Regions from separate parts of the Homo sapiens genome. Here all the other regions are linked to region 1. The links are contacts of gene promoters, found by promoter capture Hi-C in blood cells and fetal thymus (Javierre and others, 2016). All regions are on one chromosome and are shown on one strand. Each heading gives the region's core, a stretch centred on a gene start or on the middle of the fragment in contact. The rest is flanking DNA. Distances are from core to core; before and after follow the strand shown.

The links. The method cuts DNA at HindIII sites, captures the fragments that hold promoters and counts their contacts. A CHiCAGO score of 5 or more calls a contact.
Region 2: a contact is called between a fragment that was not itself captured here and the fragment with the promoter of PRMT3 in region 1, in 1 of 17 cell types (activated CD4 T cells). The highest score is 5.4, in activated CD4 T cells.
Region 3: a contact is called between a fragment that was not itself captured here and the fragment with the promoter of PRMT3 in region 1, in 1 of 17 cell types (non-activated CD4 T cells). The highest score is 5.2, in non-activated CD4 T cells.

The regions. Positions count from the first base shown.
Region 1 is chr11:20,386,342-20,389,041 of GRCh38, reverse strand. PRMT3 (protein arginine methyltransferase 3) reads right to left here and starts at 1,326. Exons shown (of 16, transcript NM_005788.4): 1 at 1,268-1,326; 2 at 888-1,023. The coding sequence starts at 1,295. RefSeq lists enhancers at 456-505, 361-967, 968-1,575, 1,449-1,618 and a silencer at 1,056-1,615. The HindIII fragment of the contact is 3,061 bases long and covers 680-2,700 here.
Region 2 is chr11:18,326,628-18,329,327 of GRCh38, reverse strand. The region is part of intron 1 of GTF2H1 (general transcription factor IIH subunit 1); the gene reads right to left. Among named protein-coding and RNA genes, the nearest start is that of GTF2H1, 5.4 kb to the right of the region's middle. The HindIII fragment of the contact is 4,770 bases long and covers 1-2,700 here.
Region 3 is chr11:18,015,402-18,018,246 of GRCh38, reverse strand. TPH1 (tryptophan hydroxylase 1) reads left to right here. Exons shown (of 11, transcript NM_004179.3): 11 at 1-692. Among named protein-coding and RNA genes, the nearest start is that of SERGEF, 3.8 kb to the right of the region's middle. The HindIII fragment of the contact is 3,043 bases long and covers 45-2,845 here.

The DNA of each region.
Region 1 (2,700 bases), core at 77-2,576:
CACTGGTGCTCAATAAATATTTTATGACAACTAGAATATATACAGGCATTCTATCTACCCAATGGGGCTACAGATGAGAACACTAACGCACCACCACTCAGCACCATGCCCAGATACAGGGAACACTGGAAAATGTATTAAAGTAACACCGGCCAATGCCAACCGGGCCTCTTTCATGCCTACTTGCCTAGGACAGGAGCCAAAGCTTCCCAAGACTAACAGGCAGAATTTTAAGTGGCAAGAATGTGAGTTTGGAAATAAGCACACCACAGCTTTGTGACCTTGAGCAAATTATTGATACTACAGTCTTTTTCCTTAAGTGAAAAGTCCTACTTAAGTAAGGTGAACTTCCTTCTTAGACTATGGAAACCGCTCAAATAAAAAAGAAATGTTTCACCTGAGAAGCTCTGTACTGGTCAAAGAATTAGCATGGTAAAGCCGGAAGGCTCCGTAGGGATTATCTAGTTCAGGGTGGCTGCCAAATATGTTACTCGTTAGTAGTAACTCGTTAGTAACTTCACTGTTACTTCCGATCTTGTCCTCATAAAAACAGAATATTCTTAGACCCCATCCCTGACTTGGAAGGATTCAGGTGCAGAGTTCAGTATCATTTTGTTTTCAGCGTCTCAAGTGACAAGATTTGGGAACCACAGATTCAATGCACTACCAGTCAAAAGCTTGCAGTACAACCGGCCTTCCAGTTCACGGTTCCCCCTCTCTACTACCGAGGGTCCTCCTTCTCCACAAGCCCTCACCCCAGACCAGTGGTTCCAGAATTCAAAGACAGGCCACTCTGGCTTGCCTCCCGCCCGAAGGCGTTCCTGGGCACACAGACCCCACGCGCCCGGGCACCCTAGGGCAGAGGCCAGGCGCTGAGGCGGACGAACCTGTTACAGAACAGGCAGGGGGTCTGCTGCTTGCCGTGGGGGAGATCTGCATCGTCCTCATCCTCCCAGGCGGCCTCGTCCCCGCTGTCCGACAGTTCTGGCAGGTCCTCCTCATTCTCCACAGCGCCCCGGCCGCCTAACACACACACACAACAATCAGATCGGCCTCGGACACCGGTGCGGCCCGGGGGCTCGAGGAGCAGGTGACGATGGGCTCTCCTCCGCCCCGTTCGCCCGCGGCCCTCACTCAGCACCTCCTTCATGATCCCTGCGAGCCCCCCACCCTGCCCGGGCCCGTGTCCCGGAGGGTCTTCCACCGGCCCCACAGCGGCGCGGCCTGGGGCTGGACGAGCCGGGTGCTGAGGGGCCAGGGTACCCACCGGTAGCGCCTGACGCTAACGAGCACATGGCTGTGGTGCCCCGAGAGCCCGGCGTGTCTGGGGGCGGGGACCGGGTTGGGCAACGAGCGCGCGCAGCGGCCGCCGACTCCAGGAACGAGCGCGAGCACAAGCGCGAACCCGCGGCGGGACCCGGGCTCCGGAAACTTCGCAGACCGCCGGGAACGCCGAAGCGCGCGCGCTGGCTCGCAATCGCTTCCGGCCTCGAGGCGCCGTGCGGGTCACGTGAGGTGGGGGCGGGGCGAGAGCGGGGGCTCCGCCTCCTCCTGCCGCAGGGTTGGCGCAGTGCGCGCTGAAGAGGCGCGCTGATGACGGTTAATGTTGCAGCCCGGAAGATGACTTTTGTCTCCTCCTTGGGTTGCGGCAGGCGTTAGTGGGAGGTCGCGGCCCGCTGCTGTGAGCCCCAAGGCAGAGAGACGTCGCTGCGGTTTTGGGGTTGGCATCCTGTCCTCTGTGCGCCCCTTTTTCCTGGGATGAGCGGTTAGCGGAGGGGCGATCGGCCCATGACGCCCTCTGGTGGCGGAGGAGGCCAAACGCTGGAGGCTCGGCTGGTTTCTGGGCTCCCAGGTCCTGGAGGGGGTGCAGCTGGCGAGAGGGAACGAACTGCATGGGCCAGGGTGGGTCTACTGCAGGGACAGATAGGTGTCAAACCCCCCAAGACGGATTTTAATCTTTGGTTAAGTGAGAACGTGAACTCTAGAGGCAGCCTGCTGGGTTTGAATCCTACCCACGTCACTTTGTAACTGTGATCTTGGGCAAGTTACTCGACCTCTCTCTGCCTCAGTTTCATCAAATACAAAACAAGGATAATAACTGCACTTGGGCAGGGCACGGTGGCTCACGTCTATAGTACCAGCACTTTGGGAGGCTGAGGCGGGCGGATCACCTGAGGTCAGGAGTTGGAGACCAGCCTGGCCAACATGGTGAAACCCTGTCCCTACTAAAAATACAAAAATTAACCAGGTGTGGTGGCACGCGCCTGCAATCCCAGCTACTTGGGAGGCTGAGGCAGGAGAATTGCTTGAGCCCGGGAGGCGGAGCTTGTGGTGAGCCGAGATTGTGCCACCGTACTCCAGCCTGGGCAACAGAGCAAGACTCCATCTTAAAAAAAAAAAAACAAAAAACAAAAAACCTGGACTAACTTCAGAACTACAGTAAGGATAAAACGAGTTAATACATGTAAAGTGCTCAGACATAACTATTTAAGCCAGGGAGTGATGCTCTCAGATGTGTTGAGAAAGTAACAATCTGGCTGCTGTGTGGGGAAGAACACAAATGTTCCCCTGCCTGCCTCATGCCACGTCCCTTTCTTCCTTTCCTTATATCTCTTCAAACCATAGAACTTTTTTTTGTTTGATTTTTGAGACGGAGTTTCGCTCTTGTTGCCCAGGCTGGAGTGCAATGGCACGATCTCA
Region 2 (2,700 bases), core at 31-2,530, 2.1 Mb after region 1:
ATAAGGAATTCAGTTCCGGACATGATGAATGTGAGGTACTGCTGAGTCATGCAGGTGGAGATAGTCTGCATTATGTAGGCATTTGCAAACGCTGGAATAAAGCCCGATTAGATGACTGCTTTTAATTAAAAAGGGATTTAAAAAATTCCATGTCACAACCCTAACATCAATTTTCCTCATTTTTAATTGTGCTTACCTTATCTGTACCCACCTTACAAATGTAATCATAAAATACATTCAAGTCCATTATTTTGTGATTTTTACTCACCACTGAGAATTTGTTTTCTTACAATCCCATTTTGATATCCATATATCAAATATGATAAAGGATCACAATTCTTAATAAACGATACCACCTTTTAACTGACTTATTTGATGTCTTAAGACTTTGAGAGTTTTCCCTTCTTGAAGTTTAAAAAACTGTTTTAAGACTATTTAATGACATGAAAAGATACACAGAAAAAAAAGGCATGTAGTTTGATTCCATATTCTTTTTTTTTTTTTGAGATGGAGTCTCACTGTCACCCAGGCAGGAGTGCGGTGGCGCGATCTCGGCTCACTGCAACCTCCGCCTCCCGGGTTCAAGCGATTCTCCTGCCTCAGCCTCCAGAGTAGCCGGGACTACAGGCATGTGCCACCATGCCTGGCTAATTTTTTGTATTTTTAGTAGAGATGGAGTTTCGCCGTGTTAGCCAGGCTGGTCTTGAACTCCTGGACGCAAGTGATCCGCCCGCCTCAGCCTCCCAAAGTGCTGGGATTACAGGTGTGAGCCACCATGCCTGGCATGATTCCATAAAATTTTTTTTTTTTTTTTTGAGATGGAGTCTTGCTCTGTCACCCAGGCTGGAGTGCAGTGGCGTGATCTTGGCTCACTGCAACCTCCTCCTCCCAGTTCCAGGAAACTCTCCCTGCCTCAGCCCCCCAAGTAGCTGGGATTACAGGTTCCTGCCACCACGCCCGGCTAATTTTTGTATTTTTTAGTAGAGACGGGGTTTCGCCATGTTGGCCAAGCTGGTCTTGTACTCCTGACCTCAGGTGATCCACCTGCCTCGGCCTCCCAAAGTGCTGGGATTACAGGCGTTAGCCACAGTGCCTGGCCCCATATTCTTTTTTTTTTTTTTTTTTGAGATGGAGTCTCCCTCTGTCACCCAGGCTGGAGTGCAGTGGCCCGATCTTGGCTTACTGCAACCTCCGCCTCCCCAGTTCAAGTGATTCTCCTGCCTCAGCCTCCTCAGTAACTAGGGGTTAGAGGCACATGCCACCATGGCTGGCTAATTTTTGTATGTTTAGTAGAGATGGGGTTTCACCATGTTATCAGGCTGCTCTCGAACTGACCTAGTGATCCCCCGCCTCAGTCTCCCAAAGTGCTGCGATTACAGGCGTGAGCCACTACACCCGGCCTGCCCCATATTCTTAAATTTAAAAAAATCTAAAATTTAGGCTGGGCAGGGTGGCTCACGTCTATAATCTCATCACTTTAGGAAGCCGAGGCGGACAGACTGCCTGAGACCAGGAGTTTGCGACCAGCCCGTGCAACATAGCAAAACCCTGTCCCTACAAAAACTATAAAAATTAGCTGGGCCTGGTGGTACACATCTGTAGTCCCAGCAAGTCGGGAGGCTGAAATGAGAGGATTACCTGAGTCCAGGGAGATGGAGCCGTGATGATACCACTGCACTCCAGTCTGGGTGACAGAGTATTCTCCATCATCTAGAATTTGCTGAATGCTTAATAATGTGTCAGGTTCTGCACTAAGTTTCTTATAGGCATTATCTCAGTCCCCAGTTAATAATCCCATGAGGTAGGTTCTATTATTAGTTACATTTTGTAGATAAGGAAACTGGGTCTGAGAAATCAAGAGGCTTTCTTAAACCATCAGGGAAGTAGCAGAACTGGGTTTGAATCTGGGTCAGTCTGTCTTTGAAATTTCACTATGTTACTCTGAAAATATATGCGAATGAAGGGATAGATACCAAATTTAATAATGATTATCTATGGGTGATAAAAATACAGATGATTTAAATGTTCTCTTTTCTGATCTATAATAATTATGTATTTTATACTAGAGCAGTTATTAAAAAAAAAAGTCTTCCCAAGAGTTTCTTCTCTATCAAACCAAATGTTTATAAAGGTAACCCAGGAAAGTGTTAGGGGTGCTAGTGTGAGAATTTGAAAACAGTGTTTTCTATTTTCAATAGTTTATTTTAACATTCATTTTCTAGTATTCTTTACAATAAACATATAACTATGCAATTCTTCTGCCAGAACCTCCCAAGTAGCTGGGATTATAGGCATCTGCCACCACGCCCAGCTAATTTTTCTATTTTTTTTTTAGTAGAGATGAGGTTTTGAGGCAGGTGGATCACTTGAGGTTGGGAGTTAGAGAACATATTTTAAAAAGCCCACTCTGTAGAATATGAAACTGGACTGCAAACCATACAAATTAGGAAACATATGTTTTAAGAAAAATGAATTAAAATCTAAGAAAGATGAGGGGAGGATCTGACGGGGAAGTTGGCAAATAATTTTAAGTATGTTGATACTTCATTATCCTACTTAAGTAGGATAATTTTAAGTATGTCAGCAGTTGGAAGAAAAGCAGTGAGCAAGGACAGCTGATAGAGCAAGTCTCCAATTAACTGGACTTACAGGCACAAATAAAGTGTTAGTATTGGAAAATAATACAAAGACCTTTATGAG
Region 3 (2,845 bases), core at 317-2,816, 2.4 Mb after region 1:
GTAAATAGTTACCCAAATGTGAGAACAGAATTGAACTAAAAGCTTCGTTTATAATTTTTTTTTTTTTTTGAGACAGAGTCTCACTCTGTTGCCCAGGCTGGAGCGCAGTTGCGTGATTTCAGCTCGCTGCAACCTGGGACTGCAGGCGTGCTTCACCATGCCCCGCTAATTTTTGTTTTTTTAGTAGAGATGGGGTTTCGCCATGTTGGCCAGGCTGGTCTCGAACTTCTGACCGCAGGTGATCCATCCGCCTCGGCCTCCCAAAGTGCTGGGATTACAAGCATGAGCCACCATGCCCAGCCGGTTAATAATTCTTAATCAGTAAATCATTATTCAAAGACATAGTTAATATCTTCATGACTTCTTAAGGATGCTCAAAAGCTGGTCTTCAGAATACCTACATTTCTTTATCTACATATTCTGTCATTTGGAGTTATACAAGTAGTAATGACACACCAAAATGTAAATAATTATTGTTAGCTTTTAAGTTGGCTTCCAAATTCAAAAAAGAAAAAAATCCTGAATTCTCTAAAGGAACATATGATAGAGTCCATATGTTAATTCATAGGAAGTGTTTAAGGTACTATGGTCTATTTTGGTCTAATCTTTGTTTTACTATGTAATATATATTTATGATTTACAAGTTTGTTATTCAGTGGGATAATAAATGAACACAAAATTTATGTTCTCAACCAATGTTTACTTTTTTTCAAACATACGTTAAAAATTTATTTAAAGTTACATTAGCAATTTTATTAGTTTAGGAAATCCATTGTATCTTTATACTTCTTAAAAAGCCTATGGATATGAGATAGAAGCCAAACATATCTGGAACCTGGTAACCACTTTTCAGAGTTCTTCGTAAAGTCTGTGTTATGTTCCTGTCAACGAAAAGAGTCAAACACAGTAAAGTATTTGAAGAGCCAAATATGAGTGACCATGGCCCATGACACAGCCCTTAGGAGACCCTGAGAACATGTGCCCAAGGTAGTCAGGGTACAGCTTGGTTTTATACATTTTAGGGAGACATGAGACTTCAGTCAAATACATTTATAAGATACACTGGCTCAGTCCAGAAAGCTGGGATAATTCAAAGTGTTGGGTGGGAGGTTTCCAGATTATAGGTAGTTTTAAAATTTTTCTAATTGGCAATTCATAGAAAGGAATGTCTGGGTTGCTGTATGAGTTTGTGGAGACCAGAGTTTTATCATGCAGATGAAGCCTCCAGATGGCAGGCTTCCAAGAGAACAGACTGTCAATTTTTCTTATCAGACTTAAGGTCTGTGTTGATGTTAATGCTGGAGAGGTATAAGGAGGCATGTGCGTGACCCCACTTCCAGTCATGGCCTGAATCAGTGTTTCGGGTTACATTTTAGAGTGCCCTGGCCTAGAAGAAAGTCCATTCAGATGGTTGGGGGGGGCCTTAGAATTTTATTTTTGGTTTACACTCCTCATCTGTAAAATGAACTAAGTCTACTACACTAGATTATTGGAGAAGTTATGCTGCAAGAGGACTTTGTAAAAAAAAAAAACTCATTTTCCACATGTAAAGAATTACTAATACAATCACTCTCTTAACAGATATTCCCCCTTAGCTTCTAGATGATTTTATCTTCCACAAGAGGGTATTAATTTTTGCTTCTAGTAGGCAGTATATAATGGCATGGTAAAGTCTGAGTCCAATTAGGGATTGAGCCAAAGAGAAGTTGAGCTTCAGTCTTTGTGAGGGCTGGTCTATTTCCAGTTCACCTTGACTTTTAGGGTGTAGCCCTTTAGGGATCTCAAGAGAAAACTATGAGTGTGTACCAGGGCTTCTCCTTGGGGGCTCTGGACTACTACTTTTGTCCCCTCCTTCATGTCCACCATTCCCTCCTCCCATCCCTACCCTATGAGATTGCTAAAGGTACTGCTCAGCTTCTTAGTTGTTGATTTCAGCCCAGTTTCTTAGCCTCCAAGACATTGCTTAGTAATTAGCAAGTGCTTCAAGCAGAAAAGTAGTGCCAAATATAATCTCTCAGCTTCCAGATCTTGGCCCTTCAAGTTCTTCCTGCTTTGATAGCTCTCCAATAACTTGAAATATATTTTAAAAATATTTTGTCAAATTTTCTAGTTGTTTTTTTATGAGAGAATAGGTATGCAGCTAGCTAATCTTCCTTTATCAAAAGTAGAAAACTGACCTTGAAGTAAATAACTACTTTGAGCCTCAGTTTTCTCATCTATAAAACAATGATCCTGGCCAGGCAAGGTGGCTCACACCTGTAGCCCTAGCTACTTGGGAGGCTGAGGCAGGAGGATCACTTGAGCCCAGGAGGTAGAGGCTGCAGTGAGCCATTATCATGCCACCTGCACTCCAGCCTGGGCAACAGAGGGAGACCCTGCCTCAAAAAAACAAAATAAGATAAAATAATAATCCTAACAGCACTTATCATACTAGTATTATTGGGATGATCACAAAAAATAATCCAACGGGAAAAAATTTCCTAACCTTCATGGTACAGAGATGCAATCTGTATGTTCTCAAATACTTTATACTTTCCTCTTTTGGGGAGATAAGCCATCTGAAAGTGAAGCCATTAGATGGTTTAAATCTAGTCCCATTCAAGAACTGCAATTCAGCCAGGCTGCTCATGGGAAGAACTAGGCAGTGGCGAGTACATAGTTGAAATAGTTGCAACATCTCAACACTTCCAATAAATTGTATTAAGGGATATGACATGATAATATAACTGTAGGTTAGTTAAAATATTGATGCTTGTACATTCAAGGGGTGGAGTCAGAAAACAACTATATTCTCCCAGACCTTCTCTCTATTAAAACTGGCTCTGTAGGTAGTTCTTCCTTGCCC